Linked DNA regions of Homo sapiens: all the other regions are linked to region 2. Evidence: promoter capture Hi-C in human tissues and cell types (Jung and others, 2019). All regions are on one chromosome and are shown on one strand. The core of a region is centred on a gene start or on the middle of the fragment in contact, and the rest is flanking DNA. Distances in the headings are between cores, read along the strand shown. Region 1 overlaps SLC25A13 (solute carrier family 25 member 13). Region 2 holds the start of DLX5 (distal-less homeobox 5). Region 3 overlaps SLC25A13 (solute carrier family 25 member 13).

Region 1 (3,829 bases), core at 507-3,006, 780 kb before region 2:
TGAAAAGAGACAATGAGTGATTACCCAATCTTCTAAAAACCATCAGGAATAAGGTGGACAGAAGCTGAGTCCTATAGGGTCTTACCTTTGCCTAACTGGCTGAATGACCTTGTTGGACAAGTTGGAACAGATATCCTTTCTTGTTCCATAAAAGGTGCTTTTCTCGGATGCCTTTCATTCTAAAATCCTGTTTTCTTCCATTTTAGGTTACAGGCAGCCATTCTGTGCCCACCCTGGCTCCAGAAAGGACCTTGGCATTCCCTGGAGTGCATGTGTTCTGAGGCCAGCAGGGCTCTTCAGCTCTACTATGTACTCTGGTTCAAATCTCGCTGCAGTGTTTGCCAAGGGCCTATTTAAATTCATTGGCTCCAGTGAAATCTGGCAGATTGAATATTGTTCAAACAAGCAGGCTACTGCCTGGCTTTAAAAACCTATTAAAGATTTTTATTGGCAATTTTACTGTATCGTTATCACAAATTTGGCCTATAAATATCACCTCTGCATATATCACTGCCTCCATATTGGCAAAAGTATATATATATATATATAGGCTCTCGTAATTGTGAGCTTAACTCAGTAAGTGATCTGTCCATACTGCCAGCTCTACTTGGCAGCCCATCGCCTTGCAGCTGACTCCAAACAGCAGTCAAGTTGCCCAAGGCTGACTGTGCCAACCAGGGGGATTTACTGGGGTATTCTTATACCTCCAACATTCTCTTTCTTATAAGATGGATCAAGCACATTTGACAGGTATGATTCATCCCTTTTCTAGTTCTCACTTGCTAGTACGTAGTTAATTCAAGTAACACTAGAAAATGTCTTTACTCTTCCTATACCCCATTTATTCTTTCCCTCCCTGTAAAATAACCATTACTCAATGAGATGAGGAGAATCTGCCCCAGTGTCCTTGCCACCTCCCTCAACCTCTCTTTTAACCTTCAAGTCACAAAAATGCTCCGATCACGGCCAATCCCTACAAAGATGATTCTACATCAAGGAAAAGAACCACTACAAGCCTACAAGCTTTTAAAACTAGAGACAAATCATATTCACCATCTCCACAATTCTTTAGATAAATATCCTTTATTTCTTAAATACTAGTAGACATCATTTAAAAACCCCGAAAAGCTATCTTATTATACTACATTGTTCCTATTTTGTATAATTACCAACACTGAGAGCAGAATTTAATAATGTGCATGACAAATAGTCTGCATTTTAATTACATCATGGATATTTTGAGATCTACCAAAGACTTCTTTTTAAAGGAAAAGTCTACTAAGTTTAAACAAACAAAAAACACCATAAATACCTCATTTTAAATTACGTATTGCCTTCAAAGCAGGAGGAAATCAAAAGAGGTAAAGAAAGACCATTGAGGAAAAAAGGGAAAAGTAATTGTAAACCATGATGGAAAACTGATTAAGGCAAATAAAGCAGATTTAAAAACCTAGGTTTCCTAAATCTTTCTTTGTTCTACTAATTAAGGCTGGATAAAAAGGTCTCAATGTTATTAAAATGGCAAATGAAGAAGGATAGTGGGGAAACCACAAATAAGAAATCAGTAACTGAAAAGCCAGCAGGCATATGAATTTGTCAGCGTATACTGGCCTACACTATATAAAGCAGCATGTTGGTTTATTCTCATTACCACTGGATAACCAGGTACTTTGAATGCACCCAAGGACAGAAAGACTGGCCTGCATGCAAGGGCACACACTGCCAAATCCTTCACTTCTCTAACCATAGTCTCCAGTTTGATCATTCCCTTGATTTAGGGCTGAAAAGCACAAAAGTACCTACAGGGTACCGAAGGCACAGCCCAAGGAACAGAATGTTCCCATACATACTTTTAGTTAATGCCCATATTACCTATGTTTGTTCTCAGCTCAAATAACATTTTAAAATACCAAAAATTGATTGAGCTAAACGATTTTTTAATTGGAACACAATGCCTTTCTCAATAGGTTTTTCTGAATCTCTGAAGCAAGGTAATGATGATTAAAACAATATTCTAAAACGAACAAAAGGCACATAAGCATAGGCACACAAAAAGTGACAAGAACATGCTATTTTCTTGCATCTGCCGTTGATCAATTCCTAGTTTGTCACTGTTAAAAAAATAAAAATACATCAGCAGTAAACTAAAATTTTTAAAAAATACATGAAATCAAAATTATACTGATTCCTCTTTGAGAAACATTATCAATTACTCGGGAACATTTTGGCATTTTCTTTCATTCAACTGTAATTCCTACATTTTGGATACACACAAAACCTCTCTTGATGTGACTGTAATAAAAGTCCCTGGCAAAGCAAAAATTAAATGACTGAAATAGCCCTTATCATTTTAAGAAATAAAATTATTCATGGTGTGGGCAAGAAGAAATAAAAATACCCAGGCTTGAGCCAGAATATCACAAAAAAAAGCCAACATTAATATCTGCTGTGCCAGCTGAATTCAAATTAACCCAATTTTTACATGTTAATTAAACCAGCTATTTTCTTCTTATTGTATTTTTGCTTCTTAAATAGTAGAGTCTACAAGTGATTCCCAACAGACTTGTTCCAACAACAATGACGTATTCATTTACTTCTATTATGACCATACAATACAGTAACTGAGCAGTAATTTTTCACAGTCAATTACATGTGTGGTTCTTTATGCTTAAAGATGCTGAAATAATGTGTACTATAGAGCCATATGCCCGAATCTCTAGTCTGCCAGAGGCAGTTGCCTGGGTAACACATTTTCTCTCCGGTTTAGCATAACCCTTCACTGAATATCATTAGGTGTCATTAAATAGCAAACATTAACATGAACTTCAATATACTACTTAGATAGAGTCATTTTACCCATGTAAACAAGTGTTCCATCATTTATCTAAGCTTAAAATAGATTATGATTTTCTGTATTTAAGACCATAAAAAAGAAAAAAAAAGTGCCCATGTGTTGATTTCAGATTGAATTTGCAGAAATTTCTGATGACGTAAGAGAACTCAGACCAAGTTTCAGAATAACATTTCATAATATTATGGTCATAATATTCAATGTAAGCAAAGAAAGATTAGGCTTTAAAATGTACTCGATCCTATAAAATAATTCCATCAATTGTATCTCAGATGAAAGATTATTGTACCCTCTTTAATAAGGACTAGGGAGAATGCACTCAAATTCGGCAACAAAATGAACTTAAAGAATAAGGTGCTTAAAAATCAAGGTATATAGGAATAAATACAAAGTATGGGATCCATTGTGCATTATCTAAAATTTTTTTACAGCTTTATTGACATATAATTGACAAAAATTGTATACATTTAAAGTGTACAATGTGTTATTTTTATATACATATACATTGAAAAATGATTATCACAATCAAGCTAATTAACACATGCACCACATAGTTGTCTCATATAGTTAAAATATTTTAAATGTTCAAAATTTAATGAAGTACTATATGGTTTAGATGTGGCAATATATAGTTTATACAGGGTGTTCTAGAGCAATGTCTGCATTGAGAGTAGCAGCTGGGAAAAAAAAAAAAAAAAGAAAGAGTAGCCGCTGTCTCAAATACTCTCCATCAGCCTACACCACCCCAAACAAGCATCCACATCTAAGAAAAACAATGTGCTTTTTCTACAGTCTCAACAGTCCTAATCCTATTACCACTCCCAAACCAAGGAATTATGATGTTTCTGAGATACATCATAATTTCAGATGAACCTAAATTCAGCCTATAAGCAATCACAGCTTTTCCTCTATCATCCACATTACAAAGGGGCTCCAAATTGTCAATGTTAATTTTAAAGGACACATATAAAAAGAAAA
Region 2 (3,883 bases), core at 1,227-3,726:
CGGTCACTTCTTTCTCTAAATAATCAAAACAGACTCAGTTAAAGCTTGTCACCAGACAATGCCCCTTTTGCGGAAGGGCCTCAAATAGAGTCCTAGAGTTTCTTACCACTCAGTCTTCATTCTTTGCCCATATCACCACCACCTTTGCTTTTCAGGACCGCGATAAATATGCACCTACCCCAAATATGGAAAAGCGGGATAGCCTCTGATTAATTCCTACTCTGTTCATTCAGATAGTTTGTGCAAAGCGCTTCCTACAACACTGCTTTCTCCTTGGCATCTGGGATTCAGCTCTTGCGGTCGTTGCTTCTTCTCCCGGACTTGTTTTTACGCCCACCCTGTGCTCCTCCGCGTTTCCGCCCCTCCCCAGGCTTCAAGAACACCAGCCCCTCCCCAGGCTTCAAGGAGGTGGCCCTGGGCCGTGACCCTACTTCTGTCGGCGTCTGTTCGGGCGCCCGCAGAAGCCAGACTCTTGGGCAGGGAAGACGCTAACCGAGGTCTCCAAAGTTCAAAGACCCACAAGCAAACTGCTCCTTCACTTCAGCAGCAAGCGGTCGGGGCCGCCGCAGACAGAGGGTCGATTATGCAACCCCCATAATCTCGCTGCAGATCTGCGAGGGCACAGATGTGTCTGGTTTCTTTTACAAATAGACTTAATATGTTCTTGGCAAAAAAAAAAAAAAAAAAAAGAAATCTTCCACTTATGCACGGAATACAGAGAGAGTGAAAGAAACGTAGACACCTCAACCCGGGGCTCTCTTTTAAAGTTCAGCAAGAGTCACACACTGAGAAGGAACCGGTGGTGGGGTGTTTTCGTAGGAAAGGGGCGGCAGGTCAGGATGAGATTCTCACTGTCATGAGTATGGGTTTGGGCGGGAGGGGGAGGGATTGCCAAACGCGTGTTGTACAAACCTGCCCTGGGGCTACAACTCCCCTTCCTCAAAACTACCACCCCTCTGGAACTGACGGAGAACCTCTCCAGGGTGTGTGTGTGTGTGTGTGTGTGTGTGTGTGTGTGTGTCAAGTTCCAGGGAGAAGTGTGGAGGATGAGGGCTGTGGTCTCAATTCTGCCAGAGTAGGGGATGCTAATATTAGCAGGATTATTAATGTGCTGGTGGGAAGAGATCAAACCTTACCAATAAAACCTCTCCGCCGAGCCTCATGCCTTTCTCTTACCGCCCAAGCTCACTAACCCTCTTAAACTCTCTAAGTAAGTTTCAAAGCGGACGAAAAAGGAGGACGGAAAGACAAATTGTGGGCGCCTATGGAGACAGAAAAAAAAATCTATCCTACAACGTGACCCCTCAGCAACCCTCCTCCACCTTTAAATGGCTTTTTGTTTTTGGAAATGCCTGGATAAACCGCAAAACTCTCGGCGCGCTCTTCTCTGGCTGGCTACAACTCCTTAACCCCCCCACCCCCACCCAGCGTGCTCAGGGCACCCGCACCGTGCTAGCTTGTGGCGGCTCTCAAACTAATCCTGACTGAGTTTTTGAGGCAGCCTTCTATTCCCACTCGCACCAACCCAGCACGCTTACCAAAATTCCCAAGTAACCTTCTCTTTGTTACGCAAACGCCAGGAGCTGCTTGATTCTTTCTTCTCTCCACCCCTATCCCCTTTCCAGCCTAGCCGGCTTCCTGGCCGGGCAAGCTGGGAATTCAGCGACTGAAGGGCCTTGGAAGGTGCCGGAGGGGAGAGACGCTAGTTCGAACCTCCACAGGGCTCTCCTACTAAAAATCCCTAAAATGCTGGCCCGAGAAACTCTCTTTGTTGGAGGGTCTGAGTCCTACTCCCTTCTGCCGCGTGCGCCCCCACTGCCGTGAACCGCTGTGACCCCCAATCTACCACCCCATCTCGCGCCCCCAGCGTCCTAGTCGCCCTGTATCTGCCCAGCCTTCCCCCTGTCCATGTACCTGGCTGGTTGGTGGCGCTTGGGACGCGGTTGTAGGCGCCGCCGTACTGGTGGTAGGAGCTAGCGTAGCTATAGTCGGCATAAGCTTTGGCTGGGTAGCTCCCGGCGGAGCCGTTCACGCCGTGATACTGATACTGGTAGGGGTTGAGAGCTTTGCCATAGGAAGCCGAGGTAGGAGAGCAGTAGCCGTGCGGGGCTCCCCCCGTAGGGCTGTAGTAGTCAGAATCGGTAGCTGAAGACTCGGGCAAAGTTGGCGATTCCTGAGACGGATGGTGCATAGCTGCGGACGTCTGGAACGGAGCTTGGAAGTCGCCGGATCGGATGCTGGGGACCCTTCTGTCAAACACTCCTGTCATCGCTCACGGGCGGCGGCAGCGGCTGTCCTTGCTGTTGTGGCGGCGGCAGCTGCCCTAGTTGGCTGTGGGGCTGCTCTGGTCTAAGCAGACATGGCTGTGGGAGCGAGGGAGGAGGAGGAAGAGGAGGAGGAGAGAAGGAGGAGGCGGCGGCCGCGGCGAGGAGGAGACTGGGAGTCGTGAAGTCTCTGTCTCCGGCCGGCTGACTGCTGGCTGAGGCGCAGCACAGCCTTGGTTAAATCCTTAATTGCGCGCTTACGCACAGCGGGGTGGATCTGGTTCTATTGGCCAGGGCCTCGGGAGCAACAGTAACACCCTAACTCGTCCAACTAGTTTTAGCACAACAAAGCATTGCTTAAAAAGGGGGTGGGGGGTACTGAGGGGGTGTGTGTGTTTGTGTGTGTGCGCGCCCGCGCGCTTGTGTGTGTTTTTGCTTGTTGTGGAGTGGGGAGGGGTCTTAGTCTATCTGTTTTTAGTAAATTCCAAAGACATCGCAGAAGCCACAGCACAAGGCTCTGTGATGTCTGGGGACAATGTGTTCCAATCAGAAGCCTCAAAAGTGCACATGTTTTGGGAATGAGGTGGGCGACCATCTTTCCTTGCTTCCCACTACCCCGCCCCCGTGGGCTGCACCAAAGGCGAGTGTAGAATTAAACACTGATACTGAAATAGGGAGTCAAGGTGCAGGGAGTGGGGAGCGGGGGGATGTAGGATGGAGGCAAGAAGGAAGGGAAACAGCATTTTTTTTTTTTTTAGTGGAGTGTTGGGAAGCAAGTTGTAACTTACATGTTTTGAAAATTTGCTCTTTGGGGAAAGAGGCAACTTCCTTTGCAGGAGATGAGTATCTCCCGGACGCGGGCTGGACAGGAATGCCCAAGAAGGCACAATGTCCATTAAGCCGGTGAATGGCAGGGAGAGTTCCTGCAGCCCAAAGTCCTTATAATGACTTTTAAAAATTACTGTCTTAAACACATATAACTTAAGGAAGCCCAAATCCTCGTTGCTGGCTTGCAAAAAGAGCCAAACAGCTCCACTTCTGTTTAATATTTTCATCTATTTTCAAGACATTGGAATAAAGGCTCTTTAACTATGTTCAGTGGCCAAAGACTCCCGCAAAGGTGAATGGATCCATGTATAACCTGCCATACCTCCAGGAAAGAATGGGAAAGTCTCGGAAGTGGGGAAGGAGACAAGGATCAAAGCCTTTGCAAAGTCAGATGATGCTCATTGATTTCCCCCTCCTGGCTCCATGAATGTGGCCCAGTCTCTCCATTTCCCAGACCCGGGTTTCTGTACCCTCTCCCCTTTATTTCCTGCTGCAAAGACATCCTACTTAGCTCGTATGCAAGGGAAGAAAGGATTCAAGAATCATTCAGTTGATACACGAGATCTAAACTTTGCTCTTCAGGAGGTGCTATCCTTGTTCTAGTCGTGATTCAGCTGGGAGTTTAGAAATTCAGCATAAAAGTCTCTCCCAATCCCCATTGTTACTCCCCTCAAATAGGCAACTCCGCGGACTAGATCCTGATTTGGGGCCTTCCTACATCTTCCTTTACGGGGTCCAAGACCGGCAATCTGGGAGTTCCACAGGCTATCTAGGGTTATCTGGCCTCCCCT
Region 3 (3,975 bases), core at 486-2,985, 850 kb before region 2:
AAGAAGCTCAGAGTTTAGAGGGAAAGGGAACGCTAGTTGTCTCCACCTGCCAGATGGGGGACAAACCACCTAACAACAGCAGGTGCTGCATACCAGACCCCAGGGGCATCACAGGACTATGAGAACCCAGTGGAGAGAACCAGTTCTTCTGCCTGCAGGAGGGGAAAAAACATCAAAGAAGAGGAGATATTTGCCCTGGGACTTCAAGGGTGAGCAGAGGTTCCCCGGAAAGATGAGACAATGAGCAGAATGGAGGGCAAGGTGACCCAGGCAGAGGAAACAGTTGGTGTGCAAAGGCACCAACATCTTAAGGCTATGGCATGGAGTCAGGGCACTGGAGGCTGTGCTTGGATCACAGAAGACCAGATAATAAATAACAATATTATTAATAGTAGTGATAATGACAACAGCCAATATTTGGGGAGCACTCGCTATATCCACATACTACAGTACTGTGTGTTTTATGTGAATGAACACATTTAATCCACACAATACCTTACTTAAACAGTGGCTTTTGTTTTATCCACAGCAACTGAAGAAGAAACTGAGGCCGACTTTAAGGGAGCTGCCCATGGTGGCTCAGCTGTTTGATGGGGGAACGGGGTTCCACCCAGGCTGTCCGACTCCAGCCTGTGCTCTTACCTGGTACGCTGCACAACTTCTCTCCCAGGCCCACTAAGGAGCATGCACCAAATTCTGTAGATGCATGGGGTGGCTTTTAGGGTAAAAAGTAAAGTTCAAAAAGTAAAAAGTTCTAGAGGCAGGTGAAGGATAGTTTGCAAGAGCAGAGACCTGAGGAAGCTAGAGAAACTAGGAGTTTAAGGTAATATATTAGAGGCCCCGAGCTTCCTTATATTAAATGATTAACTTCAACTTAGAATAAAACCAAAGCACAAATCCATTCCTAAGACCTAGGCCAGATGCTGCCACTCACGGAAGTTGTTGATAAGAACCATTCTTGTAGTGACTACCTTGTCTGGTTAAACAGGAAAATGAAGGTGACTGGATTATAATCTGAGGCCCACTACAGATGTGGGCCTTGAAAACATGAGTCTTGGGTAAATGGTCTTTGTAAGAAGGTCATGATCTGTGAAACAATGAAAAGTCAAAGAGGTGGGAATTCCAAACTCCCTCCTTGTACCTTGACCTCAGAGGGAGGAGAGGTAGCACAGCCCAGTAATGCCTAAAGCAGAGAGTCTAGGTGAGGCACTTCATCACAACCACAATTAAGTCTAAAGTGCATATATATCTGACATCTGGGTAATTCAGCAGAAAAATCAGGTTTCTAATATAAGATGTTTCTGTTGGGTCCTGGAAATTCACTTTAACCATTTGAAACAGAGAATGGATGTGTGTGTTGTTTCTAACTTGTCAAAACAGCAGTCCATTTTCCAACTGCCTCAAAAGAAATTTATTAGTGTGGTTAGTTTTCCAATCTTCTCCTTTTAGTTCAGCTCCATCAGCACATATGGCAATGCTTCCTTGGCAACTCGACTCTACCAGAAGGCTGCTAATGCGAGAAAAGATTTACAGGGTACAGTATTAATGTAGTATTTTGTCTTCACATTTCATGGGTTGGAGATATAAATCACACTATCCCCTCTGAATTCAGTCCCTTGCGCAAACCAAGGAGCTGAAGGTGTGGGGACCAAGCCCAGATCAGGGGTCTCCAACTCAAGCTTCACAGGACATCCCCAAAAGAGGTTCCTGGGCCCACTGTGTTCAACTAGAGGGCTAGCATGCTATTCTTAAGAACCTGTTAGAAATATAACTGGAATTTCAGGGTTGGAAGGGATTATGAAAGAAACTCAATATTGCTGGCCTAATTTAAACTAATTTTAGGCTATTTCCAACGGGCTGGCAGCAAAATGAACAATCTAGGGCATGGGCTTTGGAGGTGGACAGACCTGGGCTAGAATGCTAGGTCTGTGCATCTTTCACACTGAGTGATCTTGGGTAGTAATTCTTTGAATTCTAGGTTCCCTCTTGGCAAAACAAGGGTGCTACTTACTATCTATTGGTTTATTTTGATAATTATATGAATAAGTGTACAAAGAACCAGACACTATTTACCTCATATGTTATGTATTCCAAAAGACATAATGCTTCTTTCTACCTATCTTTTCAATACATAGCCTTGATTTCTTTTGTTTGCAAGAGGCAATTCAGCCTGAATCATGTTCACAGTCCACCATTAGCTAAGGAGTATCATGCTGTGCCCATGACATTATGCCTATCTTAGAACAGCTGTCCCCAAGCAGTGAGAGCACATGTGGTCTGGAAGTGTCCAGGGGCCCTGTATACTTTGGGCAAGGTAAAGTAGTGGCACAGACAAAACAACACATTTCAACTATGTTATTAAGCTGAAATAAAATATTATAGTTAAAAACTTAAATGATCCTTAACCTCTGCTGACAAGCAACTTTTCACAATGTAATTTCTACCAGGTGACAAAAGAGCCAAGTGATTAGGAACACGAGGTCTGGAGCCAGGCTGCTGAGCTTCAATTCTGACTTTGCTATTTGTTAGCTGTGTAATTGTGGACAAGTTACCTAATCTCTTTGTATCTTAGTTTCCACATCTGTAGAATGGGAATAATCATGATGCCATTTTCACGGGGTAGTCGTGAAGATGAAATGAGTTAACACTCACAAAATCCTCAGACCAGTACCAAGTACAGACAGTAAAGACTACAGAAATGGATTTTTGTTGTTGTTGTTGATCTTCATCATCACTATCACTTATTCTTCCTCCTCCTCCTTCATGGAAACTGGAATCCAGACAGGCTAAGCAGCTTGTTTCAAGTCACTAACTTCTGAGCGACTATGTAGTAGCACTCAAAGTTGAATTCAGGCCTGCCAGTACTCTCAAATCAGGGCTCTGTGCTCCTTAATTCTCTGCGGTACCAGTTTTCTCTAACAGACTTACTGCTCCAAGTTCCTCCTCTGCCCTGGAAAGGCATTTCTTCCCAACTAGACTGTTCTGAAACTTTTCTCTAGGCCTCAGCTCAGGCTGGGTCAGCACCCTGCCCTGCCTGACCCTTGTACACAACAAAGGGATGGTGCCCATGTAGCAGGCATCCACATCATGCTTCCCCCGTCTCTACAGATGGTGAATATTAGACTCCTTAAAACCTCGAAGGCACTGAATGTCAGAGCCAAGCTGTAGGTTATAACCTGGTGAACCAGTGAGAGCAGGAATATACTGGGAAGAAGGCGCAGGGTCAGGAGTGGGTTGAAGCCACGCTGAGCGGCTACTGTAACCCAGAGTGGCCAGGGTGCCAAAGGACCACGCTGGGCAACGCTAGCAGGACCACAGAGGTGGAGGGGCTACTACCAAGGAAGAAACTTGGTAACTAAGGCAGTAGTTACCAGTTCTATCTCAGCATAGAACTGAGACAGGGGCCAGCCCAAACCAGAGAAAGACAGCTGAGAGCATCTAATAGAGGGCAGAAGGTATTCAGGGCAGAGACGAGCAGTAAACTTTGGAAGGAAAAATTAATCCAGAAGACACCCCTATTCCTGTAGCTGAAGCCACAGCCAGCACACTGTTGTGTTATCTAGTTTCCACCTGGTAGCAACCCCTCCGATGTCAAATTCTTACCCTTCTGACCTCACTATTGAAACCAGAACACTTGTCCCTATCTTCCCCGAGAAACCCCTTTGCTTTCAACATCAGATTAACCTTCATTCTGCAGCTATCAGCACTTTGTGTGCCCTGCCTTAGAGCTTTTTATTCCTGCTCCTGTTGCCATGCCCTTCTCTCTTCACTTGCTCAAGCATTCTTTCCTCCCTCCTCCTCCTCCCATTTGTCTGTCTGCTTTTGACTCAGATTGCCCCTAGGCATGAGGCATTTCCACCTTCCCAACTACACTATCGCCTTTCAAAGCCTTCATTACAACCCAGTTCTGACAGGCTCTTTGGGCTGCTACCCCAAGGTGGCTGTACAGTGGAGCTGGGGAAATAGCCAGGGACA

What was found. The method cuts DNA at HindIII sites, captures the fragments that hold promoters and counts their contacts. A contact is called where the count stands out against the background at its distance.
Region 1: a fragment that was not itself captured here is called in contact with the fragment with the promoter of DLX5 in region 2 in 2 of the 25 tissues and cell types used here (H1 embryonic stem cells and heart right ventricle).
Region 3: a fragment that was not itself captured here is called in contact with the fragment with the promoter of DLX5 in region 2 in 1 of the 25 tissues and cell types used here (H1 embryonic stem cells).

The regions. Positions count from the first base shown.
Region 1 is chr7:96,244,426-96,248,254 of GRCh38, forward strand. All of the region lies in intron 3 of SLC25A13 (solute carrier family 25 member 13), which reads right to left. Among named protein-coding and RNA genes, the nearest start is that of MIR591, 27 kb to the left of the region's middle. RefSeq lists an enhancer at 1,110-3,829. The HindIII fragment of the contact is 4,605 bases long and covers 1-3,829 here.
Region 2 is chr7:97,022,355-97,026,237 of GRCh38, forward strand. DLX5 (distal-less homeobox 5) reads right to left here and starts at 2,477. Exons shown (of 3, transcript NM_005221.6): 1 at 1,915-2,477; 2 at 1-15. The coding sequence starts at 2,269. RefSeq lists enhancers at 1,983-2,699, 3,626-3,883. The HindIII fragment of the contact is 6,057 bases long and covers 1,022-3,883 here.
Region 3 is chr7:96,174,986-96,178,960 of GRCh38, forward strand. All of the region lies in intron 11 of SLC25A13 (solute carrier family 25 member 13), which reads right to left. Among named protein-coding and RNA genes, the nearest start is that of MIR591, 43 kb to the right of the region's middle. The HindIII fragment of the contact is 3,366 bases long and covers 53-3,418 here.